Regions from separate parts of the Homo sapiens genome. Here regions 1, 2, 3, 5 and 6 are each linked to region 4. The links are contacts of gene promoters, found by promoter capture Hi-C in blood cells and fetal thymus (Javierre and others, 2016). All regions are on one chromosome and are shown on one strand. Each heading gives the region's core, a stretch centred on a gene start or on the middle of the fragment in contact. The rest is flanking DNA. Distances are from core to core; before and after follow the strand shown. Region 1 overlaps VPS13D (vacuolar protein sorting 13 homolog D). Region 2 has its middle 5.1 kb from the start of AADACL4. Region 3 has its middle 29 kb from the start of AADACL4. Region 4 holds the start of VPS13D (vacuolar protein sorting 13 homolog D). Region 5 holds the start of KIAA2013. Region 6 overlaps CLCN6 (chloride voltage-gated channel 6).

Region 1 (2,866 bases), core at 44-2,543, 260 kb before region 4:
CCTTTCCCAAACTATCATATGCAGAGGCCAGCACTAGGTCCTGAAGAAGACTGGGATGAATTAAGTATCCAGGGAGCTTACAGCAATTCAGTGGAGGAGATGAACAGAAATGGCAACAAGAACACAGCAGGGAAGCAGTAGGAGAGACAGGGAGCACTAGAGTAGGCAGCATAATATAATGGCTGAGAGGATCGGCTCTGGAGCCAGCCTGCCCAGTGGGTTTGAATCCCAGCTCCACCACTTACGAACTGTAACCACAGGCAAATTATGTGACTTCTTGGAGCGATGGTTTTCTCATCTATAAAGTGGGGGTAATGATGGGTTGTTGTGAGGAGTAGATAAGTCAATACATGTACAGTGCTTAGAACAGAGTCTAGCACATAATAGGCACTCGATAAAATGCTACCTATTCTTTTTATTAGTGTATTATTTAGAGTGCCATGGGTGCACACGAGGAACCCTAGTTGAGGTGTCTGGGATCTAAGATGGGCTAGGGTGTAACATCCAACCTCTTGTACTTAGTTTTCCTACTGGGGAGGCTCACTGCTTCAAACTGAAGTATTTTCCTTTCCCCTTTGCTTTCTTGTTAACATTCTACTTACCTCTCCCTAGAGTTCTCAAGTCATACATGCATAACACACATAAAATCCCATGTTGTACTATTGCCATTGAAAATGTAAGAAAGATGTTGATTCAAGAAATCATTAGAAATTATATTGATATTGTTAAGTTTTTAGCAATTTGACATCCAGCAGCAGGGATGACATTTCCTGGGCTGGGTTTTCTCCCATCAGTGGGATTCACACCTGACTTGTTTATAGGGGTCAAGGCTTCCCATAATTTAACACATGTTTTGGGGACCCCATGACACTGCAACTGTGACAGCTGGTAGGACTAATGCCAACAGATACACCTATTGGGATTTAAACTCTAAGACAAAAATACTCCAGATTTTTTTTCTTAGTCAACTGCCTCAGGGGCGAGACTACCTGTTAATGGCTGGGTGGGGAGGGGCAGAGTTACTTTATAAAGAATTCCAAGAAAATAGATCATGTTATAGTAAGAATGGAGCCTAAAAGGCTTGGATTTCTTTAAAGGCCATAATTTTTGCATGCATTCTGGGTTTGCTTTGCTTTTACAAAATAGTAGACAACCTATAAAGTGGTTTGCAACTTTCAACATCATGGAAGAACAAGGCGCTTTACAATTGTAAGCTTTCTTTGTGTTCTAAGTAGAACATTCTGAGTCAGAGAGTGTAGTGCTTATTGGAATCTCTCAAGCCATTATCAAATTCCTTGCTAACCTGTCACCTCTAATGCCAATCCCAAGATATTTCACAAGGACCGAAATACACCATCTCTGGTAAGCTTTATTTTGTGGCTATTAAGTACGCATGCTAATAATAACAAGCTGATTACATTAATAAACCATACATTTTCACTACTTTTTTTTTTTTTTTTTTTTTTTGGTTCAAATGATTTTCCTGCCTTAGCCTCTGAAAGTGCTGGGATTGCAGGTGTGGGCCACCGTGTCCAGCCCAATATTTTCAGATTTATTTCTGGCAAATGATTATATAATCTTTTTCTTTCAATGTTTATATATTATCTACCTTCTCCCAAAGTTGACCTCTTTTAAGAGAAGAGATGAAATTTAAGAACAAAGTAGTATAAAGGAACAAACATAGACTGGAAAAAGACAAACACAGGCTGAAATCCCAGTCACTTATTAGCTGGGTGACACTGAAGAAGTTACTAGATTGTTCTTAGCCTCAGATTCCTCATCAATAGGTGAGAACTTAATACCTACTTGGTTGATAATGTTGAGATAAAATATGAAGAATGTGTAGCATAGTGCCTGGCACATAGTAGGTACTTGTAAAAGTTAATCATCTCCCTCTTTCCTACCTTTATTCAGAATTATTGGGTGTCAAGTCCATTGAAAATACCAAAATGCGAAAGTGCAGTATTTAAAATTGTATCTGGACGGAGCACCCTGGGGGACAAGTTCTCCTGGACCTGTCTGAATGACTCCTGAGGAGCACACCCCATGTGGGTACAGAGGTGTTTTCTGAAGAAAGGAGTGCTTAAAACGTTTTCACTCACCTGACCCACTCCCATCCATATCCTGTTGCCTGACAGAGCTTTTTAAAACGAGCTAGAGCAAATCAAACTAGCAGCTCAATGAATTACACCAGATATCAAATTCTCATAATTGAAATTAATGAAGTTTTAGAAAAGTGCCATTAATAAAACTCACAGCAGGCGCTTTCAAAAAAAAATTTCAGGGGTAAAACACTTTCTGCAAATGAAGTTTGTAACACAATCTTAGTACGTACAACCGCTGACAATGAAGCTGCCTTGACTGAAGTGGGGGAGGCGTGTGTCCTAACTGTCACCTCTCCCCTGGGAAGCCCTGAAGCCCCCTCCCCCAGGGCCTCTTTCAGTGACCAAAGCCAAGCAGATATGAGGATGCTCCAGCCCCCAGAGGGGACCTGCTTTGTGATTTGTTTGCTTTTTTTTTTTTTTTGAGATGGAATCTCGCTCTGTCGCCCAGGCTGCAGTGTAGTGGTGTGATCTCGGCTCACTGCAACCTCCACCTCCTGGGTTCAAGCAATTCTCCTGCCTCAGCCTCCCAAGTAGCTGGGATTACAGGTATACGGCACCATGCCCGGCTAATTTTTTTGTATTTTTAGTAGAGACGGGGTTTCACCATATTGGCCAGGCTGGTCTCGAACTCCTGACCTTGTGATCCGCCCACCTCGGCCTCCCAAAGTGCTGGGGATTACAGGCGTGAGCCACCGTGCCTGACCCGATTTGTTTGCTTTTTCAAGACCGCCTGTTCACTCAGCCTGGAGGTTTTAAATCTC
Region 2 (3,120 bases), core at 586-3,085, 410 kb before region 4:
CCAATGTGGAAAAGACACAGAAACAGAAGCTGTGTTAGGGATAAAAACCCTTGTCTCCTTTGTTCCTTGCGCACTTGCGATCATGACTGATGCAGGCAGCACCCTTCTGCAGAAGTAAATTTGCCTTGCCGAGAAATCTTTTGTTTGAGTGCTCGTTTTCTTTGCAGCTCCAAGCTCTTATTTCCAACAAACTCCAACTATGATCAATGCAAAGAGATGGCATCACTGGTAAATTATTCCAAACACTTAAAGAAGAATTCATTCCAATTCTTCACAAACTCTTCTTAAAAACAGAAGAGAAGGGAACACTTCTCGATGGCTATAATAAAAAAGACAGATAATAACAAGTATTGTCAAGGATGTGGAGAAACTGGAACTCACATTCCTTGTGAAAATGTAAAATGCTGCAGCCACTTTGGAAAGATTTTAGCAGTTCCTCAAAATTTATTGAACATAGAATTATCATATGACCTAGCAAGTCCACTTTAGGTATATACACAAGAGAATTGAAAACATGTGTCTACACAAAACCCTATCTATAAATGGTCAGAGCAACATTATTTATAATACCCCAAAAGTGGAGACAATCCAAATGTCCATCAACCGGTGAACAGGTAAACAATGTGGTATATATATTGTATCAGGGTTCTCCAGAAAGATCAAACCAATAGGACATAGAGAGAGAGCTATAAGCGGGGATTTATTAGGGGAATTGGCTTACACAGTTATGGAGGCTGAGAAGTCCCACAACAGGTCAACTGCAAGCTGGAAACCCTGGGATGCTGGTAGCGTGGATCAGTCCAAGTCCAAAGGCCTCAGAACCAGGGAAGCTGATGGTGTAATTCTCTATCCAAGGCCAAATGCCTGAGAACTCAGGGGGCACGGGGTACCACTGGTGCAAGTCCTAGAGTTAAAAAGCCAGAGAGCCTGGAGTTGCTGTCCAAGTATAAGAGAGGAAGAGTACATTCAAGCTCCAGCAGATACATGAACACATTAGGCTTTTCTTTGTTTTGATTCTCTCTGGACCCCCAGCAGATTAGATGGTGGCCGCCCACCTTGAGGGCAGATCTTACCCACCTAGTTCACTCAGATTCACATGCTAATCAATGGAAACCCCCTCATAGAGACACCCAAAAATGATGCTTGACCAGGTTTCTAGGTATTCCTTAACCCAGTCGAGTTGATAGCTAGCACTAACTATCACATCTATGCAACAAAATATTATTCAGTAGGCCAAGCACTCATGCCTGTAATCCCAGCACTTTGGGAGGCCAAGGAAGGAGGATCACTTGAACCCAGAAGTTTGAGACCAGCCTGGGCAATAGAGTGAGACCCCATTTCCAAGAAAAAAAAATGTTTAAAATCAGTGGGGCATGGTGGCACACGCCTGTAGTTCCAGCTACTCGGGAGGCTGAGGTGCAAGGATCACTTGAGCCCGGGAGGTTGAGGCTGCAGTGAGCTGTGATCACACCACTGCATGACAGCCTGGGGTGACAGAGAGAGATCCTGTCTCAAAAAAAAAAAAAAGAAAAGAAAAGAAAGACAGAGAGAAGGAAGGAAGGAAGGAAGGGAGAAAGAAGAAAGAAAAAGAGAAAGAAGAAAGAGAGAAAGAAAGAGAGAGAAGAAAGAAAGAAAGAAAGAAGAAAGAAAGAAAGAAAGAAAGAAAGAAAGAAAGAAAGAAAGAAAGAAAGAAAGAAAGAAAGGAAAAGAAGGAAAATTCTAATGAGCTTTAGGTTCTAATCTCCCAAACCCTTCCCTTCTCATGACCTCCACTCCATGTGGCTTGGATGAGGGATTTTAGACCTCAGGGATCTGTGAGGACAGCAATGGGGGTATGTGGTATTATCCTGATATTTCCAAAAGCCCAGAAGAGGTAAGGATGCACGAGCTATTTGGCACATCTGGTGGGGTTGCTTGTGGCTAGCACTCTAGGTACTCGAGGCAGTAATTCAACTAATAAATAGTTGCCATTTACTGAGGACTCCTTGTGTGCCAAGCAGTGTCCTACCAACAGCCCTCTGAGGTAAGCACATGGAGATGAAACTCACACTCTACAAGATTGCCTCACTTTCCCAAGATCATTCCCAAAGGGAAAGAGGTTTCTAGCAAGTGTGTGAGGCTGTGTGTTAATTTCATACAGGTTCCCATATTCCAATGTAACAATAACGGCAACAAAAATAACTAAGTCCAACATTGGTTAAGTGTCTGCAATGGCCCAGGCACAGCTGTGAAGTGCCTTACCTGTAGGAATTTGTTCAATGTCTGCAACACCCTAGAGGAAGGTACTGGCGTGATCCCTACTTCACAGATGAGGATACCAAGCCCCAGAATGCCAGACTCACTCGCCCACATTCATAGAGCCAGAGGTAGAAGGGCTCAGCCCAGAGCCCAAGCACTGCCCTGTCTCCTCTCAGGTCTGTTAAAGCAAACTAAATATGGCCTGAGAAGGACTCCATACTTCCATATTTGAGTCCCCGTAGACATACTGTAACCAGCTTAATAGTTAGACAAGATTGAAAACCTAACATAGAAGTATGCGCTTGTAACAATAACTGAGTCTTGGCCAATCCCAGCGGCCAAACTTCAACCACTCAGAGCCTGCCAAGTGTTCAAACTGTGTTCAAATAAGGCAAAGGCCATCCTGTTTCGGTACCTCGCTGCCAATTTCTGTACCTCTCTTCCCTTTTTTTTGTCTGTAAATCTTCTACCACGTGGCCAGATTGGTGGCTCATGCCTGTAATCCTGGCACTTTGGGAGGCCGAGGCAGGATTGTTTGAGCCTAGGAGTTCGAGACCAGCCTAGGCAACAGAGTGAGACCCCATCTCAAAAAAAAAAAAAAAAAAAATTAGTTGATGAGCTTTTTTATCACTTGAGGTCAGGAGTTTGAGACCAGCCTGGCCAATATGGTGAAACCTTGTCTCTTCTAAAAATACAAAAATTAGCTGGATGTGGTGGCACGCACCTGTAGTCTCAGCAACTCGGGAGGCTGAGGCAGGAGAATCATTTGAACCTGGGAGGTGGAGATTGCAGTGAACAGTGATGGCACCATTGCACTCCAGTCTGGGTGTCACAGGGAGTCTCCATCTCAAAAAAAAAAAAAAAAGAAATCTTCTTCCACCA
Region 3 (3,144 bases), core at 440-2,939, 440 kb before region 4:
ATACCACTCTAGAAGACTTCAAAGAAGCACCTATTGCACCCTGATTTAATTCACCAATGAGAAATGTGCAAAAATCAGATTGATCTTGGAGAATGTTTGTGGGTGATTCTAAAACTGCTCATGCAGTAATTTTATAATTCAATTGCAGCTGTTTTTCCAGCTGTAGCATCATATGGGAGCAAGTAAACACAGCTCCTGGCACTTGGTAAGCAGCTACTGACCTGGCAGATGCCTTTTGTTCCATACCAATTTTGTAAGGAATACCACAAGCCACCTGCCTTTATCTAGCAGGGCTAACAGTATACCTTTACATTCTCACCTCAGGGCTATGTCAATTCTGTTTTCTGCCATAATATACTCTTCAGAGATGAGGATCATGATATTCCTGTAAACATCACACTGATCTGATACATCAGTGACATTGTGCTGACTGGATCATATGAGCAGAAAGTAGCAAGTACTTTAGATTCTGTGTTAGGTTCAACCCAGGAGACAGAAACAGGGAGTCACAGATATAAAGAACAGCCACTGCTCCTAGGTCAAGATCTGACCTTATTTTAGAGGACATGGTCATAGGTAACTAGAAAAGGTGCCAAAAAGCCATTCATGGGAGAGTGTCTAGTTGGTGACACTCTGCTGCAAAACCATCTGAATGTTACCAAAGGAGGCTGCTGGTCACTGAGTGTGATGGCCGCTGGGTACTGTAGGAGCTAGACATCAGAGAAGCCTTTCTCAGTGGGCCCCACATGTTGGCAAAACTGAATGCTGCAGGAAACCGTGGTAGAGAAAACACAAACTGCAGACATCTGGCAAGAAGAGTACACCAGAACTAAGACGAGAAGCCCGCCCTTTTCCAATATTTCTCCAGCACCTTCTACTGACAAACCTTAACATTGTTGGCCAGGGGCGGTGGCTCAGGCCTGTAATCCCAGCACTTTGGGAGGCCAAGGCAGGTGGATCACAAGGTCAGGAGATCGAGACCATCCTGGCTAACACGGTGAAACCTCGTCTCTACTAAAAATACAAAAAAAAAAATTAGCCAGGCATGGTGGCGGGCGTCTGTAGTTCCAGCTACTGGGGAGGCTGAGGCAGGAGAATGGCATGAACCCAGGAGGTGGAGCTTGCAGTGAGCCAAGATCGGGCCACTGCACTCCAGCCTGGGCAACAGGGTGAGACTCTGTCTCAAAAAAAAACAAACAAGCAAACATTGTTTCAGGTGACAAAATAGAACTATGTCAAGGGTATGTCAAGAACTGGGGAATAGGTCTCAGATTTTTATCCTACTTGCAAACTAATATTTTATCCTACTTGCAAAATAATAAGACTAATAAGTCTACTTGCAAACAATAAACTATCCACAGTTTCATGGATACTGCCAGAAAACATGAGATGTCAGGCTCAGATTCAAAGATTATTATTATGTATAGCATGGCAAACAGAATGAACTTCACATTAGCGTTGGTTCTCCTTGCCTCCCAGATCCCATGGGAATGACACAGAGAAGCCCAGGTGGATGGTGTGCATGGTAGGGGTGCATCACAGGTGAGGAACTCTGACCTTCAGGGACTCCAAATCTTCTATAAGCAAGAAAACCTGCCTAACCTTTTCCCTATTATCTTTTTTTTTTTTGTAACTTTAAATTCTGGGATACATGTGCAGAATGTGCAGGTTTGTTAGTTAGGTATACAGGTGCCATGGTGGTTTGCTGCACCTAGCAACCCGTCATCTAAGTTTTAAGCCCCACGTGCATTTGGTGTTTTTCCTAATGCTCTCCCTCCCCTTGCCCCCCACCCCCTGACAGGCGCTGATGTGTGTTGTTCCCCTCCCTGTGTTCATGTGTTCTCATTGTTCAACTCCCACTTACGAGTAAAAACATACGGTGTTTGCTTTCCTGTCCTCTGTTAGTTTGCTGAGAATGATGGCTTCCAGCTTCATCCATGTCCCTACAAAGGACATGAACTCATTCTTTTTTATGGCTGCAAAGTATTCCATGGTGATATGTACCACATTTTCTTTGTCCAGTCTCTCACTGATAGGCATTTGGATTGGTTCTGTGTCTTTGCTATTGTGATTAGTGCCACAATAAACATAAGTGTGCATTAAGTGTGCATGTGCCTTTATAGTAGAATGATTTATATTCCTTTGGGTATATACTCAATAATGAGATTGCTGGGTCAAATGGTATTTCTGGTTCTAGATTCTTGAGGAATCCCCACATTGTCTTCCACAATGGTTGAACTAATTTACATTCCCACCAACAATGTAAAAGTGTTCCTATTTCTCCACAGCCTCACCAGCATCAATTGTTTCTTGACTTTTTAATAATTTCCATTCTGTCTGGCATAAGATGGTATCTCGTTGTGATTTTCACTTGCATTTCTCTAATTATCAGTGATGTTGAGTTTTTTTCATATGTTCATTGGCTGCATAAATGTCTTCTTTTGAGAAGTGTCTGTTCATATCCTTTGCCCATCCTCATGGATAGGAAGAATCAAAGTCATGAAAATGGCCATACTGCCCAAAGTAATTTATAGATTCAATGCTATTCCCATCAAACTACTATTGACATTCTTCACAGGATTAGAAAAAACTACTTAAATTTCCTATGGAACCAAAAAAGAGCCCATATAGTCAAGGCAATCCTAAGCAAAAATAACAAAGTTGGAAGTATCATGCTACCTGACTTCAAACTATACCACAAGGCTACGGTAACCAAAACAACATGGTACTGATACCAAAACAGACACATAAACCAGTGGAAGAGAACACAGACCTCAGAAATAACACCACACATCTACATCCATCTGATCTTTGACAAACCTGACAAAAACAAGCAACAGGGGAAAGGATTCCCTATTTAATAAATGGTGCTGGGAAAGCTGGCTAGCCATATGCAGAAAACTGAAACTGGACCCCTTCCTTACACCTTATACAAAAATTAACTCAAGATGGATTAAAGACTTAAATGTAAAACCCAAAACCATAAAAACCCTGGAAGAAAGCCTAGGCAATACCATTCGGGACATAGGCATAAGCAAAACCTTCATGATGAAAACACCAAAAACAACTGCAGCAAAGCCAAAATGAACAAATGGGATCTAATTAAACTAAAGAGCTTCTGCACAGCAAAAGAAACTAGCATCA
Region 4 (2,889 bases), core at 260-2,759:
TTACCAATTATCTCCAAATCAAGGGAAACAACTGTCAGTTTGTAAACAAGTTCAGGCCCTACCCTACTTGCCCTAAACGGAAAAGAATGCAAAGCACAGATTTTAAAAGCATGAGTGATTAGCATTGTGAGGCAACCTGGTCAGTAACATTGAGGCCCAAACCAGAAAGCACCCATTATTTGCTCTGCTAAGCATCTAGACCGTGCTTGAGGCCACTTCAAGGATTCCCTGAAGGAATTCAGTGTCAGCAAGGGCCGCCAGACTGGCCAGAGTCCCAAAGTGTTTACACTCCGGTCCATCAGGACTTCTAGGCAGCTGCCTGGCACTGGCACTAACCCCCACCTGGGCTCCCCTACCCAGTGGGGCGGGTGACAGTAGGGATCAGTGCTGAGCCCACGGGCGGGCAGACAGCCGGGCATGACCTTGAGCCAGGCCCCTCCCCTGAGGAGCGGCCAGACCGGGAATAGGAAGGACTGGCAACCGGACCTGGGCGTCCCTCCCCGAGGCGGCCAGGGCTGAACGCTGCCGGCGCCAGGGAGCTCCAAAACCGGGGCGGGGACGGCTGTGCGACCGGTGGCCCCACAGGAACGGCACTGCCCGGAAGGCGACGCTCCCACAACCCTCCCGCCCCCAGCTCTCGGAACCCTCAGCCCCCTCCAGGGGACAGAGACCCCACCACCCAAGTAAAACCTGGAGGGAACGGCGCCGGGATCCCATACCTAGGAGGAGTGGCTGGGCCAGGGCGTGACCCTGGGGGGTAAAAGGTAAAGAGAGGTTTTAGGCCTGATGTCTGGCATCCCACACCTAGGAGGAGTGGCTGGGCCAGGGCGTGACCCTGGGGGGCAAAAGGTAAAGAGAGGTTTTAGGCCTGATGTCTCCACGCGAGAGTGTGACCTCGGGTGGCTGATTAAGGGAGGTGGCTAAGGCATTCTAGAGAACTGACACCCCACTCTTCGGCGTAATGTGGGGGGCTCGCACACTGGGGTCCTGCATTGAGACCAAGGCTCAGGCGGACAGGCGCGGACTGACACCCCCCAATTCCAGGGCGCCAGGCTGCTGGGACCCCGGAAAGTGTGCCGGGGTCCAGCGGGGGCTCGGGCTCCCCAGGACACGGACGTCGGGGTTCCCAGAGGTTCAGCCAGCCCCGAGCCTGTGCTTGGGGAGCTCGCGGGGACTCGGACGCAGGGGTCCCCGGAGGTGGCGGGCTTGGGGCCCGGGGGGAGCAGACGCCCAGGGTTACCCCGAGGGGCTCAGACCGAGGCCGGACGACGGGGCCCCCAGGCTCCTAGCATCGCTCTCCCCAGGGTGGGCCCGGGCCCCCATGTCCAGGCGGAGCCCTAGCGGCGGCCCGCGGGTCCGCGCCGGCCCTGCAGTTCCCGACCCTGGCCCCGCCCGGCACGGAGCCGCTCGGCCCCTACCTGTCGGTGTCCCGGGCCGCCCGCCCCAGCCCGGCGCTGCGCGGCGTTTCCTCCCCGCCGCTCCTCAATGGCGCAGGCCCGCGGCGCTCAGGCCGGCCCCGACCCGACCAATCGAGCGGCCGACGCGCCGGTGCCTGGCCAGCCGAGCGCCGAGTTATCGAGGAGGCGCCCCCTGGCGCCGGCGGCCGCTCCTGCAGTGGTGCGGGCCCCTCCAGGGTTCGCGGACACTGGGGCTTATTTTATAGGTGGGGAAATTGAGTCCCAGGGGAGGGCAGGGCCACAAATGACTCTGGTTCAGACAGCATGGGAACCCAGGATTCTTCCCACCTACAACCACCCTGCCTTCCATCCAAGCGAAAGGTGCGATTGGCCGTCCGTCTGGCCCACTCACCCACAGTCCGTTCCCCACTTCGCAGCCACAGGGGCCTGTTAATTCAGACCCTGCCCTTCCCTGCTTAAAACGGCGTCCCCACCGTACTTCAGTTAAAACCCACCTCCTTACAGAGCTGCCACCAAGGTCCCACTGGATCTGGTCCCTTCCCATTTCAGCCACTTTTTCCCCGGCCGACTCTGCCTCAGCATCCTTCAGTTTCTGCCCCAGGAACTGTACCTTTGCCGTTGTCTCTACCTAGGACCCTTCTCCTCAGACCAATAGAAACACAATGCCAGCCACATAGGCAATCCACATTTACTAGCTAGTACATTTTTTTTAAACGAAAAAGAAGAAAATGAACTTCATTTTAATATATTTAATCCAATATGTTCAAAATATGATCATCTCAACATGTCGCCAAAAGAAAAAATTACTAATACAATATGTTAACTTTTTTATAGTAAGTTTTTGAAATTCGGGTATATTTTACATTTACTGCGCATCTCAGTACAAACTAGCCAGAATTCCAGTGCTCAATACCCTCTTGTGGCCAATCCAGAGCTACAGAATAGCTCTGGATATTCGTATAGCTGACTCCCTCTGGCTTCAAATATTCCACTCAGAGAGGACTTGTGCCTATCTACGGTTCCATTATGAGCTGGGCACAGTGGCTCATGCCTGTAATCCCAGCACTTCAGGAGGCTGAGGCGGGCGGATCACTGAAGTCAGGAGTTTGAGACCAGCCTGGCCAACATAGTGAAACCCCATCTCTACTAAAACTACAAAAATTAGCCGGGCGTGGTAGTGCACACCTGTAGTCCCAGCTACTGGGGAAGCTGAGGCAGGAGAATCACTTGAACCCGGGAGGCGGAGGTTGCAGTCAGCCGAGATCACCCCTCTGCACTCCAGACAGAGTGAGACTCCCTCTCAAAAATGAAAATAAAAATAAAGTTCCATTATCCATTACCCTGTTGTATTTTATTCATGGAACCTAATACTCCCTGAGATTATCTTGTTTGTTTATACATATGTTGTTCTTTCCCCAGTACCTTGAAAACAGAGATTTTATCCCTTTCACAGTGTTTCTTCAACACCTAG
Region 5 (2,846 bases), core at 65-2,564, 300 kb after region 4:
TGCCTCAGTCTCTCAAGTAGCTGGGATTACAGGCGCCCACCACCACGCCCAGCTAATTTTTGCATTTTTATTTTTTTATTTTTATTTATTTATTTTTTTTTTTTTGAGACAGAGTCTCCCTCTGTCACCCAGGCTGGAGTGCAGTGGCGCGATCTTGGCTCACTGCAAGCACCGCCTCCCGGGTTCACGCCATTCTCCTGCCTCAGCCTCCCGAGTAGCTGGGACTACAGGCGCCTGCCACCACGCCTGGCTAATTTTTTATATTTTTAGTAGAGACAGGGTTTCACCGTGTTAGCCAGGATGGTCTCGATCTCCTGATCTCGTGATCTGGCGGCCTCGGCCTCCCAAAATGCTGGGATTACAGGCGTGAGCCACCGTGCCCAGCCTAATTTTTGTATTTTTAGTAGAGACAGGTTTTCACCATGTTGGTCAGGCTGGTTTCGAACTCCTGACCTCAAGTGATTTGCCCATCTCAGCCTCCTAAAGTGCTGGAATTACAGACGTGAGCCACCACTCCTGGCCTCTGGTGGTTCCCCTTCCCCTCCTCCTCCCTTTTCCTTTCTTCTTCTTTCTTCCTCTTCTTCTCTCTCCTTTTTTTTTCCTCCACTTTTTCGTATTGTTCCAAGTGTTTTTTTGCAGTGAGGATAGTCTTTTTTTTTTTTTTTTTTTTTGAGACAGAGTCTCACTCTGTCGCCCAGGCTGGAGTGCAGTGGCGTGATCTCGGCTCACTGCAAGCCTGCAACCTCCGCCTCACGGGTTCAAGCAGTTCTCCTACCTCAGCCTCCTGAGGAGCAGGGATTACAGGCATGCGCCACCACGCCCGGCTAGTTTTTGTATTTTTAGTAGAGATGGGGTTTCACCATGTTGGTCAGGCTGGTCTCAAACTGCTGACCTCGTGATCCGCCCGCCTTGGCCTCCCAAAGTGCTGGGATTACAGGCGTGAGCCACCGCGCGCGGCGAGAGGATGGTCATTTTTACAGAAACAAAGTTGTTGTGTGTGTGTGTGTGTATGTTTTTAAATTTTGGGGCTGTTGAATCCATCAGTAGCAAAGGGGCCCAACACGTGTTCGGTTTGGCTGGCTCGATGTTTTTTTCACGAGTGAATTGGATGCTTCCAGTCCTCCCCAGACCCCTGCACTTAACTCCACTGGACTTCACTCTTCCGGCCTGGGAACGAGTGGTCCCGCCCCCGGCAGCTTTTGTCCCGCCCTCGCCGTGGCTCCGCCCCCTTCTCTCCGGCCTGCTCTCTCTCCTCCCTCCGCCCTCCCGTTTTCCATCTGTCGTAAAAGACACGGCGACGCTTGACCGCCGGCGTCGTTTGACGGCTGGAGGCCACCGAGAAGAAGGAGGAAGCAGGGGTGGCGGCTGCTGCGGCGGTTGCGGCGGGGGCCGGGGTGGGCGCCGCGGTCCGGGCCGGGCAGTGAGGCGCGGGCGGCCGGGCCGGTGGGCTGGGCGGCGGGCCCGGCGGCCGCCCTCGCACCCTTGCCCGCGCCTGGCGGCCCGATGTGGCTGCAGCAGCGGCTCAAGGGGCTGCCGGGACTGCTGTCGAGCAGCTGGGCCCGCCGCCTCCTCTGCCTGCTTGGCCTCCTGCTGCTGCTTCTGTGGTTTGGGGGGTCCGGCGCGCGGCGGGCGGCGGGCGGCCTGCACCTGCTGCCCTGGTCCCGCGGTGAGCCGGGCGCCGCCGAGCCGTCTGCCTGCCTGGAGGCGGCCACCCGCGCCTGGCGCGGCCTGCGGGAGCGCGGTGAGGTGGTACCGCTGGGTCCTGGAGTGCCGGCCCTGGTGGCCAACGGCTTCCTGGCCCTGGACGTGGCTGCCAATCGGCTGTGGGTGACTCCCGGGGAGCGGGAGCCCGCCGTGGCGCCGGACTTTGTGCCCTTCGTGCAGCTGCGCCCGCTGAGCGCGCTGGCTGAAGCTGGAGAGGCGGTGCTGCTGCTGCGGGAGGGGCTTCTGCGCCGCGTGCGTTGCCTGCAGCTGGGGTCCCCAGGTCCTGGCCCCGTGGCCGCCGGCCCCGGGCCCGCCTCCGTCTCTGGCCTTGCCGCGGGGTCCGGCCGCGACTGCGTGCTGCTGCAAGAGGACTTTCTGGCGCACAGGGGCCGACCCCACGTCTACCTGCAGCGCATCCAGCTCAACAACCCCACGGAGCGCGTGGCCGCGCTGCAGACTGTGGGGCCCACTGCCGGCCCAGCCCCCAAGGCCTTCACCAGTACCCTGGAGAAGGTCGGAGACCATCAGTTCCTCCTCTACTCAGGCCGGTCCCCGCCTACGCCCACTGGGTTGGTGCACCTGGTGGTGGTGGCCGCCAAGAAGCTGGTGAACCGCCTCCAAGTGGCTCCCAAGACGCAGCTGGATGAGACGGTGCTGTGGGTGGTGCACGTCTCTGGCCCCATTAACCCCCAGGTGCTCAAAAGCAAAGCAGCCAAGGAGCTCAAGGCGCTGCAGGACTTGGCACGGAAGGAAATGCTGGAGCTCTTGGACATGCCAGCGGCGGAGCTGCTTCAAGACCACCAGCTCCTCTGGGCTCAGCTCTTCAGCCCAGGTGAGTCCTGGCCAGCGCTTGGTCCACCCTAGATATGTCCCTCCCAAGTCTGCAGAGGTGACACTGAAGGTGATGGTGGGGTGGTTGAAACTTGGGCTTGGCGTTTCACCAGTGGTTGAATCTGCTCAACTGCTTAGTGTCTGTGCGACCTTTGGATTCGTCGCCTAATCTCTCTGGGCCTGTATTTAATAACAATAACGCCTACCTCAGAAGGTTTTTATGAGACTGTAGTGGACAATTGAGTGTAAAGGTCAATTCTTTCTGTTACTTGTTTTGGTAGATGGGGCCTGATGTGAGCAGAGTGAAGTGT
Region 6 (3,000 bases), core at 197-2,696, 410 kb after region 4:
GAATGAGCATCACCTGGGAGGCCTTTCTTCTTTAATCTCACCAGAGGTGAAACCTTTACCTTTAGTGAACAAGAGGCCACTTTCTGCAGGAATCTGCATTCTCAGTTTCCTGACATTCTGGAAGGAGGTGGGGAAAAGGAGTGCGGGACTCTAAAACCTCCTAAGCGAGCAGGTGAATCCAAACCACCTCACCTCAATGAGAACAAGGAGGCTTGCCAGGAAGACAAAGGTGAGGTTAAAACCCAGGAGTTCAAGGAGAGACAGAGCGAGGCAGCCTTTCTGGCTGCACTCCTCCACCGCTGCGGAAACTGGGTTAAGGAAACTTGTTCATCAGCCGAGGGGTGTCCCCGTCATCACTTGAGAGGGTGCAGCTGCTTCTCCTTTGGATCATGCTGGCTGCTGAGTGCACTTTTTCTCTATATATAAAAATTTTTTAAAAACTGCCTGAGATGACTGGGTGCAATGGCTCATGCCTGTAATCCCAACACTTTGGGAGGCTGAGGCAGGAGGATCACTTGAGCCTAAGAGTTGGAGGCCAGCCTGGGCAATGTAGTGAGACCATGTCGCTACAAAAAGTACAAAAGGTATATGCCTATGGTCCCAGCTACTCAAGAAGCTGAGGTGGGAGGATCGCTTGAGCCTGGGAGGCTGAGGCTGCAGTGAGCTGTCATTGCACCACTGCATTCCAGCCTAGGCAACAGTGTGAGGCCTCATCTCTTAAAAAAAAGAAAAAATTGTTTGAGATGCCTTTGACATTAGGAAATACTTCAAACATTACAAAAAGTAACGAATACCCATACCCTCACAACTGTAGCTTTAACAAATCTCAACAACATGCCATATATGCTCCAGGTATTTTTAAAAAAGAAAACATTCAGTACCATTTTAAGAAACAAAACAAAACAAAAAAAAAAACAGTTTTCCTTCCTCTCTCCCCTGGGAGAAACCACTAACCTGAAATTATTGTGTGTATTTCAAAAGTGTCCACACTGTTGTACACGGCACTTGTATATTCTGTAACTTGCTCTTTTTTTCTCAACATTAAGTCTTTGAGAATTAGCCATGTTGATACACACAACTCTGTGGTTCGTTCACTTTCACTTGTCTAAAATTTTTATTTTACAATCTACAGAAATGACATGATGTCTAAAATGATACCATATGAATGTACCATAATTTTTCCATTCTCCCATTTGGTGACTCCAGCTTTTTGCTATCATAAAGCTATAATTACCACCTTTGTACATGTCTACGGTTCAAATTTCTAAGAGGAATGTATGAGTCACAGGAATGTGCACCTTCCTTTTTCTAGAGGTTTACTGGCCAGTTTTTCTCTTTTGAGAATTCCAGTTCACATCCTTTGCTCGTTTTCCTTCCATTGGACCATCTGTTGTTTTTCTGATTGAGTTGCAGGAGTTCTTCCTGTATTATTTGTTCTGAATCAGAGTCTCATTCTGTCACCCAGGCTGGAGTACAGTGTTGCAATCTCGGCTCACTGCAACCTCCGCCTCCTGGGTTCAAGTGATTCTCCTGCCTCTGCCTCCCAAGTATCTGGACTAAAGGTGCACACCACCACACTCAGCTCAATTTGTATTTTTAGTAGAGACAGGGTTTCACCATGTTGGCCAGGCTGGTCTTGAACTCCTGACCTCAAGTGATCCGCCTGCCTCGGCCTCCCAAAGTGCTGGGATTACAGGCGTCAGCCACCGCGCCCAGCCTCTTCCTGTATTCTGGATACTAATTATCTGCCTCTTAAATGCATAGTAAATAACCTCTCTCAGGCTGTGGACTTGTTTTCACTTTATTTATGGTGTTTTATTGTTGTTATTTGGAGTTTTTGTCTTTATAAATACAATATGTACTTTGATGTGGTCAAATTTATTGATTTTGTTTGTTTTTTTTTTTTGTTGTTGTTTTTTGAGACAGTTTTGCTCTCATTGCCCAGGCTGGAGTGCAATGGCGCGATCTCGGCTCACTGCAGCCTCTGTCTCCCGGGTTCAAGCGATTCTCCCACCTCAGCCTTCCAAGTAGCTGGGATTACAGGCACCCGCCACCATGCCCAGCTAATTTTTTGTACTTTTAGTAGAGATGGGGTTTTGTCATGTTAGCCAGGCTGGCCTTGAACTCCTGACCTCAGGTGATCTGCCTGCCTCGGCCTCCCAAAGTCCTGAGATTACAGGCATGAGCCACTGCACCCAGCCATTGATGTTTTTGTTTGTTTGTTTTTGAGACGGAGTCTTGCTCTGTCACCCAGGCTGGAGTGCAGTGGCGTGATCTTGGCTTACTGCAAGCTCCGCCTCCCAGGTTCATGCCATTCTCCTGCCTCAGCCTCCCCAGCATCTGGGACTACAGGCGCACACCGCCACGCCCAGCTAATTTTTTTGTATTTTTAGTAGAGACGGGGTTTCACCGTGTTAGCCAGGATGGTCTCAATCTCCTGACCTTGTGATCCGCCTGCCTCTGCCTCCCAAAATGCTGGGATTACAGGCGTGAGCCACTGTGTCCGGCCCCATTGATGTTTTTTCTTATAGTCTGTGCCTTCTGGAGTTTTAAGAAATTATTCCCCACTCTTGACAACATATAGTCTCCCGAAGTTTTGTTCTGCATATTTACATCTTCATCTGGAATTTATCTTATTTATAGTATGAAATAGGAATATAACTATTTTTCCATATGGATCACCCATGTCCCAGCATCATTTTTTTTAAGACAGGGTCTTGCTATGCTGCCCAGGCACAGTCATGGTGCATTACAGCCTCAAACTCCTGGGCTCACCTCCTAAGTAGCTGGGACTACAGAGATGTGTATCTTTTATTTATTAAATAACACAGCGTCTTTTATTAAATCATTCATCACTCCCTCACTGATTTGTAATATTAACTGTCATTCACCAAAGTTCCATGTATGTGAGGACCAGCTTCTGCTTCTCTATCATTTTCCACTGTCTAGGTATTCCTGCACCAATATGACCAATTTCAATGACTGTATCTTAAATTTTAT

Evidence for each region. Contacts are between HindIII fragments. The CHiCAGO score rates a contact against its expected background, and 5 or more counts as called.
Region 1: a fragment that was not itself captured here is called in contact with the fragment with the promoter of VPS13D in region 4 in 1 of 17 cell types (M1 macrophages); the score reaches 5.7 in M1 macrophages.
Region 2: a contact is called between a fragment that was not itself captured here and the fragment with the promoter of VPS13D in region 4, in 12 of 17 cell types (non-activated CD4 T cells, endothelial precursors, erythroblasts and 9 more). The highest score is 7.6, in non-activated CD4 T cells.
Region 3: a contact is called between a fragment that was not itself captured here and the fragment with the promoter of VPS13D in region 4, in 1 of 17 cell types (endothelial precursors). The highest score is 5.1, in endothelial precursors.
Region 5: the fragment with the promoter of KIAA2013 here is called in contact with the fragment with the promoter of VPS13D in region 4 in 1 of 17 cell types (neutrophils); the score reaches 5.5 in neutrophils.
Region 6: a fragment that was not itself captured here is called in contact with the fragment with the promoter of VPS13D in region 4 in 2 of 17 cell types (neutrophils and activated CD4 T cells); the score reaches 6.5 in neutrophils.

Annotation. Positions count from the first base shown.
Region 1 is chr1:12,487,271-12,490,136 of GRCh38, reverse strand. All of the region lies in intron 67 of VPS13D (vacuolar protein sorting 13 homolog D), which reads right to left. Among named protein-coding and RNA genes, the nearest start is that of SNORA59A, 19 kb to the left of the region's middle. The HindIII fragment of the contact is 153 bases long and covers 1,217-1,369 here.
Region 2 is chr1:12,637,412-12,640,531 of GRCh38, reverse strand. No RefSeq gene overlaps it. Among named protein-coding and RNA genes, the nearest start is that of AADACL4, 5.1 kb to the left of the region's middle. The HindIII fragment of the contact is 4,411 bases long and covers 1-3,120 here.
Region 3 is chr1:12,671,713-12,674,856 of GRCh38, reverse strand. No RefSeq gene overlaps it. Among named protein-coding and RNA genes, the nearest start is that of AADACL4, 29 kb to the right of the region's middle. The HindIII fragment of the contact is 9,462 bases long and covers 1-3,144 here.
Region 4 is chr1:12,228,650-12,231,538 of GRCh38, reverse strand. It overlaps VPS13D (vacuolar protein sorting 13 homolog D), which reads right to left and starts at 1,509. Exons shown (of 70, transcript NM_015378.4): 1 at 1,419-1,509. RefSeq lists silencers at 1,450-1,618, 1,155-1,684 and an enhancer at 830-1,760. The HindIII fragment of the contact is 6,412 bases long and covers 1-2,889 here.
Region 5 is chr1:11,924,895-11,927,740 of GRCh38, reverse strand. It overlaps KIAA2013, which reads left to right and starts at 1,314. Exons shown (of 3, transcript NM_138346.3): 1 at 1,314-2,536. The coding sequence starts at 1,504. RefSeq lists enhancers at 1,095-1,389, 1,044-1,707, 1,708-2,370 and a silencer at 1,390-1,459. The HindIII fragment of the contact is 9,969 bases long and covers 1-2,846 here.
Region 6 is chr1:11,819,994-11,822,993 of GRCh38, reverse strand. CLCN6 (chloride voltage-gated channel 6) reads right to left here. Exons shown (of 23, transcript NM_001286.5): 6 at 193-299. Among named protein-coding and RNA genes, the nearest start is that of CLCN6, 15 kb to the right of the region's middle. The HindIII fragment of the contact is 5,075 bases long and covers 1-3,000 here.